3 separate regions of the Homo sapiens genome follow, and regions 2 and 3 are each linked to region 1. Evidence: promoter capture Hi-C in human tissues and cell types (Jung and others, 2019). All regions are on one chromosome and are shown on one strand. The core of a region is centred on a gene start or on the middle of the fragment in contact, and the rest is flanking DNA. Distances in the headings are between cores, read along the strand shown.

Evidence for each region. The method cuts DNA at HindIII sites, captures the fragments that hold promoters and counts their contacts. A contact is called where the count stands out against the background at its distance.
Region 2: a contact is called between a fragment that was not itself captured here and the fragment with the promoter of NCKIPSD in region 1, in 1 of the 25 tissues and cell types used here (hippocampus).
Region 3: a contact is called between a fragment that was not itself captured here and the fragment with the promoter of NCKIPSD in region 1, in 1 of the 25 tissues and cell types used here (dorsolateral prefrontal cortex).

Annotation. Positions count from the first base shown.
Region 1 is chr3:48,684,253-48,688,243 of GRCh38, reverse strand. It overlaps NCKIPSD (NCK interacting protein with SH3 domain), which reads left to right and starts at 2,329. Exons shown (of 13, transcript NM_016453.4): 1 at 2,329-2,607. The coding sequence starts at 2,437. It overlaps IP6K2 (inositol hexakisphosphate kinase 2), which reads left to right. Exons shown (of 6, transcript NM_016291.4): 6 at 1-241. RefSeq lists enhancers at 1-439, 1,822-1,891, 1,486-2,217 and silencers at 2,414-2,708, 2,102-2,821. The HindIII fragment of the contact is 9,717 bases long and covers 1-3,795 here.
Region 2 is chr3:48,531,245-48,535,099 of GRCh38, reverse strand. All of the region lies in intron 9 of PFKFB4 (6-phosphofructo-2-kinase/fructose-2,6-biphosphatase 4), which reads left to right. Among named protein-coding and RNA genes, the nearest start is that of MIR6823, 17 kb to the left of the region's middle. The HindIII fragment of the contact is 9,044 bases long and covers 1-3,855 here.
Region 3 is chr3:48,907,781-48,911,756 of GRCh38, reverse strand. No RefSeq gene overlaps it. Among named protein-coding and RNA genes, the nearest start is that of ARIH2, 9.1 kb to the left of the region's middle. The HindIII fragment of the contact is 4,450 bases long and covers 329-3,976 here.

The sequences.
Region 1 (3,991 bases), core at 1,080-3,579:
GACTCTGTGTCCCAGGCACAGCTGTGCTGCGTCAGGGAGGAAGCCAGTATGGCCAGGTGGTGGCTCCTGCAGCCTGGAGCTGATGTGCAGTGGCCTCTGTGAGCCCCAGCCTGAGCCAGTCCCAGCTGTGCTTGGAGTCTTTATTTATTTTAACTATTTCTTCAACATTCCACATTTGATGATGATACCTCTTTCTTCCCTGAGTGTATATGTTCTAATACAAATCTTTTTGTTTATTGTATATAGTGCTCCTGTCATTCTTTCCAAGAGCAGGCAGTCCCCCTCCCAAGCCTCACCACATGCTGTGACCACCTCCCTGGCTCAGTATTCTCCTGGCTGCCACCCCCACTCCATGGATCCTAAAGTCAGCACAACCTCTTGGCATGGTGTACAGTCTCCAACCCAGCATCCTGAAGGTTACCCAGAAAGGATCCCCAAGTTACATACCTTCTGGCGTCTGTGCTGGCTAAGTGTCTCAGCACCTCTATCCAAAAACCACATGACGCTTGACACAGGTCTTCTCATGGGCCGTATGCAGCTTAAGCCAATTAGATAGCAGGTGATCCAAACCTTGGGTCCAGCTTTTAATCCCTCCTATGCCACTGGCAGCAGCTAATTGGCTGGCTATTGTGATAGATGTCCTGGAAGCAATACTAGGGTCTCTAGCCTCGGGTCTGGTCCATTGGCAGCCATGGACTGTGTTGTAAAGGGGCCCAGGTGATGGAGGGTACCATAAAAAGGCGTGTTTGGGCAGGTAGGGTGGTCCTCTTGGCCACACCACCTGTCACCACTCCTGCCCAGCCCTAGTCCCCATTGCAATTTCACCAGTCTTATTCTTCAGGCAGTCCCAGACAGCACAGACCCCGAGATTCTGCCCTGCCCCAGGAGGGCTTCTGGGAGGAGGAAGGGCCAAGAGAGGTCTTGAACTGAAGAGCCAGACCTGGTGCAGAGAAGGCAGGGTCTGGATGTCAGTTTCTAGCAGTTCTACCCCTCACCTGAACCTCACACTAGGCCTATGTACTTTAGGCCTAAAAATAGGCAACTGGGTCAGACAGACACCCATAATCCCAACACTGGGAGGACTGCTTGAGTCCGGGAATTTGAGACTAGCCAGAGCAACATAGCAAGACCTTGTCTCTACTAAAAAAAAAAAAAAAAAAAAAAAAAAAAAAAGCTGAGTGTGGTGGTGCATGCCTGTAGTCCCAGAGACAGTAGGCTTGAGCCTGGAAGATCAAGGCTGCAATGAGCTTGATCATCCCACTGCACTCCAGCCTGGACGACAGAGCAAGACCCTGTCTCAAAAAATAAATACAGATAAAAATAGAAAACTTGCACACACTGGCCTGTACACGCCTCCTGCTTCCTGGGCTCGGGCTTCCTGTGGAGCGTAGCTGGACCATTCTCAGCCACAGTCTCTCCAGGACCCTGAGGGCCTCTTCCCTGGGTCTTCCAGGCACTCTTATTACACGGATTTCATATATCTGGAGATCTGGGCTGACTGGAAAGCTGGGTGGATCAAATAGGCTCTTAAGGCCACCGTGGTACCCCACTCCCTCTTTCAGCCCTCCTCTATGCTCTCAGAAAGGGGCATCGCAAATCTTAAGTCCTATAAAGACAATAAAACACAGCAAGATGATAGCGATTGATGGGGGTGGGAGCTTGACGGACAAATACTATAGGAGAGGGAAGGGAAAATTGTCCCAGGTAGAGGGAACAGAATATGCAAAGGCCCAATATAGAGAAAACCAGCCATAGCTGAAGAGAGAGGAGGAGTAGGGGTGGGGAGCAAAGATGGGAGGGCTTTAGACAGGGAATAGCCCCGCCTGGTTTCTGCTTTTGTGGCCCCCTTCTCCCCACACTTGCTCCCCACTGGCCACCACCGGCACTCGGTGAAGACAGGTGGTGAGGCCTAGACACACCGAGAGCCGGGCCCCGCGGGGGCTTCCAAGTGTCGGATCAGCAAGATCATCCTTTCGAGGTCGCCGTCCTTGCAATTAGTAGATGGGACCCACTGCCCCAGGGCGGTAGGGGCGCACCCGCTACGAGCGGAGCGCGCTTTCACCGGGAGGTAGGACGGGACGCAGCGCTCGGACTTAAGCGGGGAAAGGGAGCAGAGGGCTGGACGGGTGAAACTGAGGCCGGGGTGAGGAGTGAGGGTGCGGTGTCCGGGGATGAGGGGCCTGGAGCCGGGAGGGACCAGAGGAGACAGCGAGCTGTCGACCCCAGCCCCGCCGCACCTCTTGGGGCCGCGCGGGGGCGCTGCTCTCCGATGCGTGGAACGATACAGCCCGGGGCGGGGCTTCGGCGGGCGGGCGCGCGCGCGCCTGCGTAGTGTGTCACGGGGCGGGACAACCGCGGCGCGGCTCGGCGCTCCCGGCCTGGCGTTGTGGCGCCGCAGCCCTTGCCACCTTCCCTGCACCTGCCCTGCCCGGCCTCATGTACCGCGCGCTGTACGCGTTCCGCTCGGCGGAGCCCAACGCGCTGGCGTTCGCCGCGGGCGAGACCTTCCTGGTGCTAGAGCGAAGCAGCGCGCACTGGTGGCTGGCCGCGCGGGCGCGCAGTGGTGAGACGGGCTACGTGCCGCCAGCCTACCTGCGCCGCCTGCAGGTGAGTGCGCCCCTTCCCGCCCGGCCTCCGCGCCCCTGGGGCAGGACCCCTTCACAGCCCCGCGGAACCGACCCAGGGACCCCACCCTCTCCGGGACCCGAGGCCAGGACCTCTATCAGACAGGGAGTTTGAGAACCTGACCCTGAGACCCCCGGACCCACGGGGACTGAGACCCCAAGTGTCAGCATCACCCACAAAAGACCAGGCCCTTGACAGACCAACTCCCGATCGACCAAAAGCCTAACTCTGGGACTGAGACTCCTCAGGACCCCAGACCCTTCAGTATCGAGTCCGCCATCTGAATGGCGACCCTGAGCCCCACCGAATCCTGGCCAATTATTCAAATCCCTGAGACCCCAGATCCTTAATATGCCCCTTCTCTGGATTCCTAGGACCCCACAACCAACCTCCCTCCCTCCCTCCCTCCCTCCCTCCCTCCCTCCCTTCCTTCTTCCCCCAACCCCGCGCCTTGCCCCCCGTTGGAGCCACCACTGAGACCTGGACCACCTTGGACACCACCTGTTTCCCTAGCCATTCTCCAGGTCCTCAACCCCCCAACTTGGACCCTAGAGCCATAGACACCTCCATCCCCTATGTAACACCCAAGCTTTGGTACTTCAGTGTCTTTCACTAGCCTGTGTTCAGCCACCCTCTAAGCTCTTCTTAAGTCTCTACCAACCTTATTTGAACCAAGGACCCATGCCCCTGCTGACACTGTCTGCTCCACTCCCCAACCCTGACTTCTCAAACTTTCTTGCTTTGAAAATGGGTTCCATCCCTACTTGTTCCCAGCCTGGAGTGGGGACTGCTCACATTGTGATGAAGTGAGTTCTTATAGCTTCTCCTGGTCTGATCGTGGCCCCATTTCCTTCCAGTGGAAGCTGCAGTCCCAGTTCCTGTTTCCCTAAGAGTAGCCCTGCTGCGGGGGTTGGGGTGCGTATCTCCAGCTGGTCTATTCTGACCACAGGGGGAAGAAGGGCCCAGAGCTGCCGGGCCTGTGCCAGACACCCCCGCCCCGTCCTAGTCCTTATCCTTTAGGAAACATCCTGTCCCAGCCCAGTTCAGGACAGAAATAACGGGATAAATTTGGAAGTGTCATCTGGTCTTACCAGGAAGGATGGGCCCTGGGGGCCTAGGGGCTTCCTCATAGACCCTTGGCGTGATCCCATCTAGGAGTGCCAGGGGTGGGAGTGGGGGCCGTGGACACCATGGCTGCTGTGTGTCAGACCCAACCTTTTTGGGAATGGGGTCTCATTGAAGGCCTCTGAGGAAAAGTCCTGTCTCTTCCCCTACTGGGCATAGGTCAAGGGCCTGTGAGTCCCCTGCCGCCAGCCAGGACCAGTGGGGCAAGGTGTTTGGGGAGGGCAGAGAGGCTACCATCTTC
Region 2 (3,855 bases), core at 305-2,804, 150 kb after region 1:
CGGTGGCTCACCCTTGTAATCCCAGCACTTTGGGAGGCTGAGGCGGGCGGATCACCTCAAGTCAGGAGTTTGAGTCCAGCCTGGCCAACATGGTGAAACCCCATCTCTACTGAAAATACAAAAATTAGCCAGGCATGGTGGTGGGTACCTGTAATCCCACGTACTCGGGAGGCTGAGGCAGGAGAATTGCTTGAACCCAGGAGACAGAGGTTGCAGTGGGCTGAGATTGTGCCACTGCACTCCAGCCTGGGCAACAGAGTGATGTTCTGTCTCAAAAAAAAAAAAATGCTCTTCTGCTGACTTCTGGGTTGCATTGTTTCTAAGAGAAGTCTGTTGTCATTCTCATCTTTGCTCTTCTGGATATAATGTTACCTCCTTTTTCTCTGACTGCCTTTAATATTTTCTTTTCTTCTTTTTTTTTTTTTTTTCAAGACAAGATCTTACTCTGTCACCCAAGCTGGAGTGCTGTGGTGCAATCATAGCTCACTGTAGCCTCAACTTCCTGGGCTCAAGCCATCCTCCCATCTCAACCTCCTGACTAGCTGGGACTACAGGCACTTGCCACCATGCCAGGCTAATCTTTTCTAATTTTTGTAGAGACGGAGTCTCATGATGTTGCCTAGGCTGGAATATTTTCTCTTTATTGCTGATTTTTAGCAATTTGATTATGATGTATCTCAGTATGGTTTTCTTTATGTTTATCATCCTTGGGGTTTATTGAGATTCTCGGATTTCTGGGTTTCTAAATATAAAATGTGAAGAATTGTTGGCCATCATTTCTTCAAAGGTATTTTCTGCCACCCCTTCTCCCATCCTGGACTCCCACTCTGTGTGTGTTAGACTGTTTGGTATCATCCCACAGGTCACTGAACTTCTGGTTTTTTAATTTCTTCTGTTCATTTCTTCTCTGTCTTTTTTTCCTTCCGAGCTTTAATTTAGATAGTTTCTACTGCTATGTCTTCAAATTCACTTATCTTTACTTCTGCATTTTTATTAAACCCATCCAGTGAACTTTTCATATCAGATGTGGTGTTTTGAAGCTCCAGGAATTTCATTTTGTTCCTTTTTTGAATCTTCCATTATTTCTTCATTATGCTTGGCTCTGCAGTCCAGGAAGTGCCTCTGGGCAGTAAGCTGCTGCCTCCTCCCCTCAGCTTGCTTCCCTTCTCTCAAGGATCACAGTCCTGCCTAGTCTCGTGTCTAAAAACAGTTGTTTGATTTGTCCCTTTATTTATTTATTTTTTTGAGACGGAGGTTTGCTCCTGTTGTCCAGGCTGGAGTGCAATGGCACGATCTCGGCTCACTGCCACCTTCGTCTCCCGGGTTCAAGCGATTCTTGTGCCTCAGCCTCCAGAGTAGCTGGGATTATAGGCACCCGCCACCACACCAACTAATTTTTGTATTTTTAGTAGAGACAGGGTTTCACCACGTTGGCCAGGCTGGTCTTGAATTCCTGACCTCAGGCAATCCACCCACCTCAACCTCCCAAAGTTCTAGGATTACAGGTGTCAGCCACAGCGCCCTGCCAATTTGTCCTTTTTTAATAATAGTTGTTTTTGTTGGGGCCAGAGCAAATCTGGTACCAGTTGCTCCATCATGGCTTGGTCTTTATTATGGGTGGTTCCCATTTCAATATGAAAAGCTTTTTCTGTGGATATATACTTTGACTAATTTGAATATTACCACCCCTGCTTTTGTTTTTCCATTTTTTTTTACTGTGGTAAAATATGCATAACATAAAATTTACCATCATAGCTGTTTTGAAGTGTACGTTTCAGGAGTATGAAGTACATTTACATTGTTATGCAACTCTCACCACCATGCATCTCCAGAACTCTTTTAATCTTGTAAAACAGAAACTCTGTACCCACTGAACAATAACTCAAGCCAGATGTGCTGGCTCACACCTATAGTCCCAGGTACTTGGGAGGCTGAGGTGGGAGGATTGCTTGAGCCCATGAGTTTGAGGCTGTGGTGTGCTATGATTTCATTCACGATTGGCCCTTGCACTCCAGCCTGGACAACATAGTGAGACCCCATCTCTAAAAAAATTTTAAAAAGAAAAACAATAACTCTATTTGCTACTCCCAGCCCCTGGCAACCACTTTCTGTCTTTATGACTTTGACTACTTTATATACCTCATATAAGTGAAATCATATAGTATTTGTCTTTTTGTAACTGGTTACTTTAGTTAGCATAATATCCTCAAGGTTCATCCATGTTGTAGCTTGTGCAAGAGTTTCCTTCCTGTTTATTTTTTAAGACAGCATCTCACTCTGTCACCCAGGCTACAGTGCAATGTGGAAATCACTGCAGCCTCAAACTCCTAGACTCAACGATTCTCTTGCCTCCCTAGTAGCTGGGACTAACAAGTGCACACCACCATGCCTAGATAATTTTTTTATTTTTTGTAGAGAAGGGAGGCTCACTATATTGCCCAGGTTGGTCTCAAACTCCTAGCCTCAAGCGATTCTACCACTTTGGCCTCTCAAAGTGCTAGGATTACAAATGTGAACCATCACACCCAGCCTTAAGAATTTTCTTCCTTTCTAAGGCAGAATAAGATTCTATTGTATACCACATTTCGTGTATCCATTCATCTGCCAATGGACACTTGGACAGCTTCCACTTTTTAGCTATTGTGGATAATGCAGCTGTGAACATGGATACAAATGTCTCTTTGAGACCCTGCTCTCAATTCAATTCTTTTTGGTATAGACCTAGAAGTGGAATTGCCAGATCCTATGGTAATTCTGTTTTTATTATTTATTTATTTATTTATTTATTTTGAAACGGAATCTCGCTCTGTCGCCCAGGCTGGAGGGCAGTGGCATGATCTCAGCTCACTGCAACCTCCACCTCCCTGGTTCAAGCAATTCCCCTGCCTCAGCCTCCTGAGTAGCTGGGATTACAGGCCCACACCACGATGCCTAGCTAATTTTTTTTGTATTTTTAGTAGAGACAGGGTTTCACCATGTTGGCCAGACTGGTCTCAAACTCCCAACCTCAGGCAATCCACCCGCCTCGGCCTCCCAGAGTGCTGGGATTACAGGCGTGAGCCACCGCACCCGGCCTCTGTTTTTATTTTTTTGAGGAACTGCTGTACTGTTTCCCATAGCAGCTGCATCATTTTACATTTCTACCAGAAGTACACACAGGTTCCAATTTCTCCACATCCTTGTCAACACTTGTTGTTTTCTTTTCTTTTCTTTTTTTAATAGTAGCCATCCTAATGGGTGTGGTATTGCATCTTGGTTTTGATTTGTTATTCCTGCTTTCTGTCCATATATTTTTTCTTTTTTTTAAGTGACAGGGTCTTGCTCTGTTGTCCTGGCTGGAGTGCAATGGCACCATCATGGCTCACTGCAGCCTTGACCTCCCAGGTTCAAGTAATCCTCCCATCTTAGCCTCCCGAGTAGCTAGGACTACAGGCACACATCACCATACCCAGCTAAATTTAAAAAAAAAATTTTTTTTTGGCCGGGTGCGGTGGCTCATGCCTGTAATCCAAGCACTTTGGGAGGCCAAGGTGGGCAGATCACCTGAGGTCAGGAGTTGGAGACCTGGGAGGCGGAGGTTGTGGTGAGCTGAGATCACGCCACTGCACTCCAGCCTGGGTAACAAGAGCAAAACTCCCTCTCAAAATTAAAAAAAAAAAAAAAAAATTTCTGCTTCCCGGGTTCAAGTGATTCTCTTGCCTCAGCCTCCCGAGTAGCTGGGATTACAGGAATGAGCCACCAAGCCCAGCTAATTTTGTATTTTTAGTAGAGACGGAGTTTCTCCATGTTGGTCAGGCTGGTCTTGAACTCCTGACCTCAGGTGATCCCACCTCGGCCTCCCAAATTGCTGGTATT
Region 3 (3,976 bases), core at 1,304-3,803, 220 kb before region 1:
CCTGCTAGCTAGGATGGTCTCCATCTCCTGACCTCGTGATCCGCCCACCTCAGCCTCCCAAAGTGCTGGCATTACAGGCGTGAGCCACCACGCCCAGCCCAAATCACATTTCTTAAATGCTTTGTTCTTTCAGACTGGTTAAAGGCCAGGCACCAAGTTGTTATAGATGGTAAGTAAAGAGGACCACAATATCTGTGGTCAAGGAGCTTTGTTCTAATAGGAGATGCAGAAATTAGTAGAATAATTCAACAATAAGTATCAAATTACCACTGTGAGTGCACTGGATGGAAATACAAGAAAAATAAAAATAAAAATTATCACCGTGAGCCGGACACGGTGGCTCATGCCTGTAATTCTAGCACTTTGGGAGGCTGAGGTGGGCGGATCACGAGGTCAGGAGATCAAGACCATCCCGGCTAATACCGTGAAAACCCGTCTCTACTACAAATAATAAAAAAAAAAAAATTAGCCCGGCGTGGTGGCAGGCGCCAGCTACTTGGGAGGCTGAGGCAGGAGAATGGCGTGAACCCGGGAGGCGGAGCTTGCAGTGAGCCGAGATCGCGCCACTGCATTCCAGCCTGGGCAACAGGGTGAGACTTCGTCTCAAAAAAAAAAAAAAAAAAAAAAAAATTATCACCGTGAGGAGTGCTGCATAGGAGAGTTGGTAGACTCAATCCTCAGCCTCTCTTCCATCTACGCTCCTTCCCCAGTGATCTCATTCAACCTCTTTGCCTTAGGACCTCCCGTATACTGATGACTTCCAGGTTTTCATTTCTAATCCTACCAAATTTCCTATACTTCACACTCAGTATATGCAGTTGTCCATTCAATACCTCCATTTGGATGTCATATCGGCACTCGAATTTAACATGTCTTAAATAAAACAAAATTCTCAAATTTACCTCCAAACCTGCCACTCCCCCAATATTTCCCAGCTCAATACCACTCTCTCTCCATTTACTCAGGCCAAAAATTCACAAATTTGGCCAGGCATGGTGGCTCACGCCTGTAATCCCAGCACTTTGGGAGGCCGAGGTGGGCAGATCACCTGAGGTCAGGAGTTCAAGACCAGCCTGGCCAAGATAGCAAAACCCTGTCTCTACTAAAAATACAAAAATTAACTGGGCATGGTGGTGGGCACCTGTAATCCCAGCTACTCGGGAGGCTGAGGCAGGAGAATTGCTTGAACCCAGGAGGTTGCAGTGAACCAAGATTGCACCACTGCACTCCAGCCTGGGCGACAGAGCAAGACTCTGTCTCAAAAAAAAAAGAAAGAAAGAAAAAACAAATCACAAGTTTTCCATGAGCTTTCCTCTTCCAAATTTCACATTCAGTCCACAAGCAATTCCCATGAGCTATACCTCTGAGATATGTCCTGACTTTAGCACTTACCACTACCTGCAGCTCTATTCCAAGCCACCCTCAATGTGTCTTTGGATGTGAGCAGTAGTCCCTTAACTAGTCGCCCTGCTTTAAAATATTTTTTACTTTTGTAGAGACAGGATCTCACTCTGTCACCCATGTTGGAGTGCAGTACATTTTATTATTTATTTACTTATTTATTTATTTTTATTTTTCGAGGCAGAGTTTTGCTCTTGCCGCCCAGGCTGGAGTGCAATGGTACAATCTCGACTCACTGCAACCTCCACCTCCCAGGTTCAGGCGATTCTCCTGCCTCATTCTCCCGAGTAGCTGGGACTACAGGCATGCACCACCATGCCTGGCTAATTTTGTATTTTTAGTAGAGATGGTGTTTCGCCATGTTTGCCAGGCTGGTCTCAAACTCCTGACCTCAGGTAATCTTCCCACCTTGGCCTCCTAAAGTGCTGGGATTCCAGGCGTGAGCGACCGTGCCCGGCCCAGTACATTTTATTTTTATTCTTTTTTTAAAAAAGATTTATTTTTTTCAAGATAGAAGGTGGGATTTTTCTTTTTTTTTTTTTTTTTTGAGACGGAGTCTCGCCCTGTTGCCCAGGCTGGAGTTCAATGGCATGATCTTGGCTCACCGCAACCTCTGCCTCACAGATTCAAGCGATTCTCCTGCCTTAGCCTCCTAAATTGCTGGGATTACAGGCGCCTGCCACCACGCCCGGCTAATTTTTGTTATTTTTAGTAGACATGGGTTTTCACCATGTTGGCCAGGCTGGTCTGGAACTCCTGACCTCAGGTGATCCACCCACCTCAGCCTCCCAAAGTGCTGGGATTATGGGTGTGAGCCACCTCAGGAGATCAAGACCAGCCTGGCCAACCTGGCAAAACCCCGTCTCTACTAAAAATACAAAATTAACGGGCGTGGTGGCACATGCCTGTAATCCCAGCTACTCGGGAGGCTGAGGCAGGAGAATCGCTTGAACCTGGGATGCAGAGGTTGCGGTGAGCCAAGATTACACTATTGCACTTCAGCCTAGGCAACAAGAGCGAAACTCTGTCTCAAAAAATATATATATTTTTAAAGTACAAAACATATCATTTTTCTTTTCAACATCCTCTAAAGCTCTATCACAAGCTTTGGCCTTACGGACCAACAAAGCGTAGTCTAGAGCCAGACAGCTAGGATTAGAAACCCTTGACCGGGTACAGTGGCTCATGCCTGTAATTCCAGCACTTCAGGAAGCTGAGGTGGGATGATTGCTTGAGTCCAGGAGTTCGAGACCACCCTGGGCAACATAGGGATACCCTGTCTCAAAAATAATTAATTAATCAAAATTGAGGCTTGGGAGAGTGGGTCACTCCTGTAATCCCAGCACTTTGGGATGCCAAGACAGGAGGATCACTTGAGCTCAGGAGTTCAAGACTAGCCTTGGCAACATAGGGAAACCCCATCTCTACAAAAAATACAAAAAGTAACCTCGGCCGGGACGGTGGCTCATGCCTATAATCCTAGCACCTTGGGAGGACAAGGCAGGTGGATCACCTGAAGTCAGGAGTTTGAGACAAGCCTGGCCAACATGGTGAAACCCTGTCTCTACTAAAAATACAAAAATTAGCCAGGCGTGGTGTCGGGTATTTGTAATCCCACCTACTCAGGAGGCTGAGGCAGGAGAATCGCTTGAACCTGGGAGGCAGAGGTTGCAGTGAGCTGAGATTGTGCCACTGCACTCCAGCCTGGGTGACAAGAGCAAAACTCCATCTCAAAAAAAAAAAAAAAAATTAACCAGGCATGGTGGTGCACACCTGTAGTCCCAGCTACTAGTGGGGCTGAGATGGGAGAATGGCTTCAGCTCAGGAAGTGGAGGTTGCAGTGAGCTGAGATTGTGCCACTGCACTCCAGCCTAGGTGACAGAGCAAGACCCTGTCTCAAAAAAATAAAACTAAAATTAAAATAATACTTTAAAGAGAATCCCAACTCCACATCTTCCTGTCCATGTGACCTTGGGCAGGGAACCTTAACCTCTCTGTGACTTAGTTTGCTCATTTGTGAAATTAGGAGAATAATAGCAGCCTCTACTGAGTGAAAAAAGCAAACTGGTATTTACAATATAGCCTTTTATCAATGAAAACAGTTTGTGTAAGTGTGTGTGTAGGTGTGTATAGCTGTATATATAAATATGTATGTTAACTCATTGAAAGGGCCCTGAAAGATATGTACAAAATGCTAATATTTTATTTATTGATTTATTTAATTTTTTTCTGAGGCCTAGCCTAGGAGACAAGCCTAGGTAACAGAGCAAGACCCTGTCTCAAAAGACCCTAGGTGATGCTCTGTCACCTAGGCTGGAGTGCAGTGGTGCTATCTTGGCTCACTGCAACCCCTGCCTCCTGGGTTAAAGCAATACTACCTCAGCTGGGCACAGTGGCTCACGCCTGTAATCCCAGCACTTTGGGAGGTTGAGGCGGAAAGATCACCTGAGGTAAGGAGTTCAAGACCAGTCTGGCCAACATAGTGAAACCCCATCTTTACCAAAAAATACAAAAATTAGCCAGGCGTGGTGGCACGTGCCTGGAGTCCTGGTTACTTGGGGGAGCTGAGACAGAA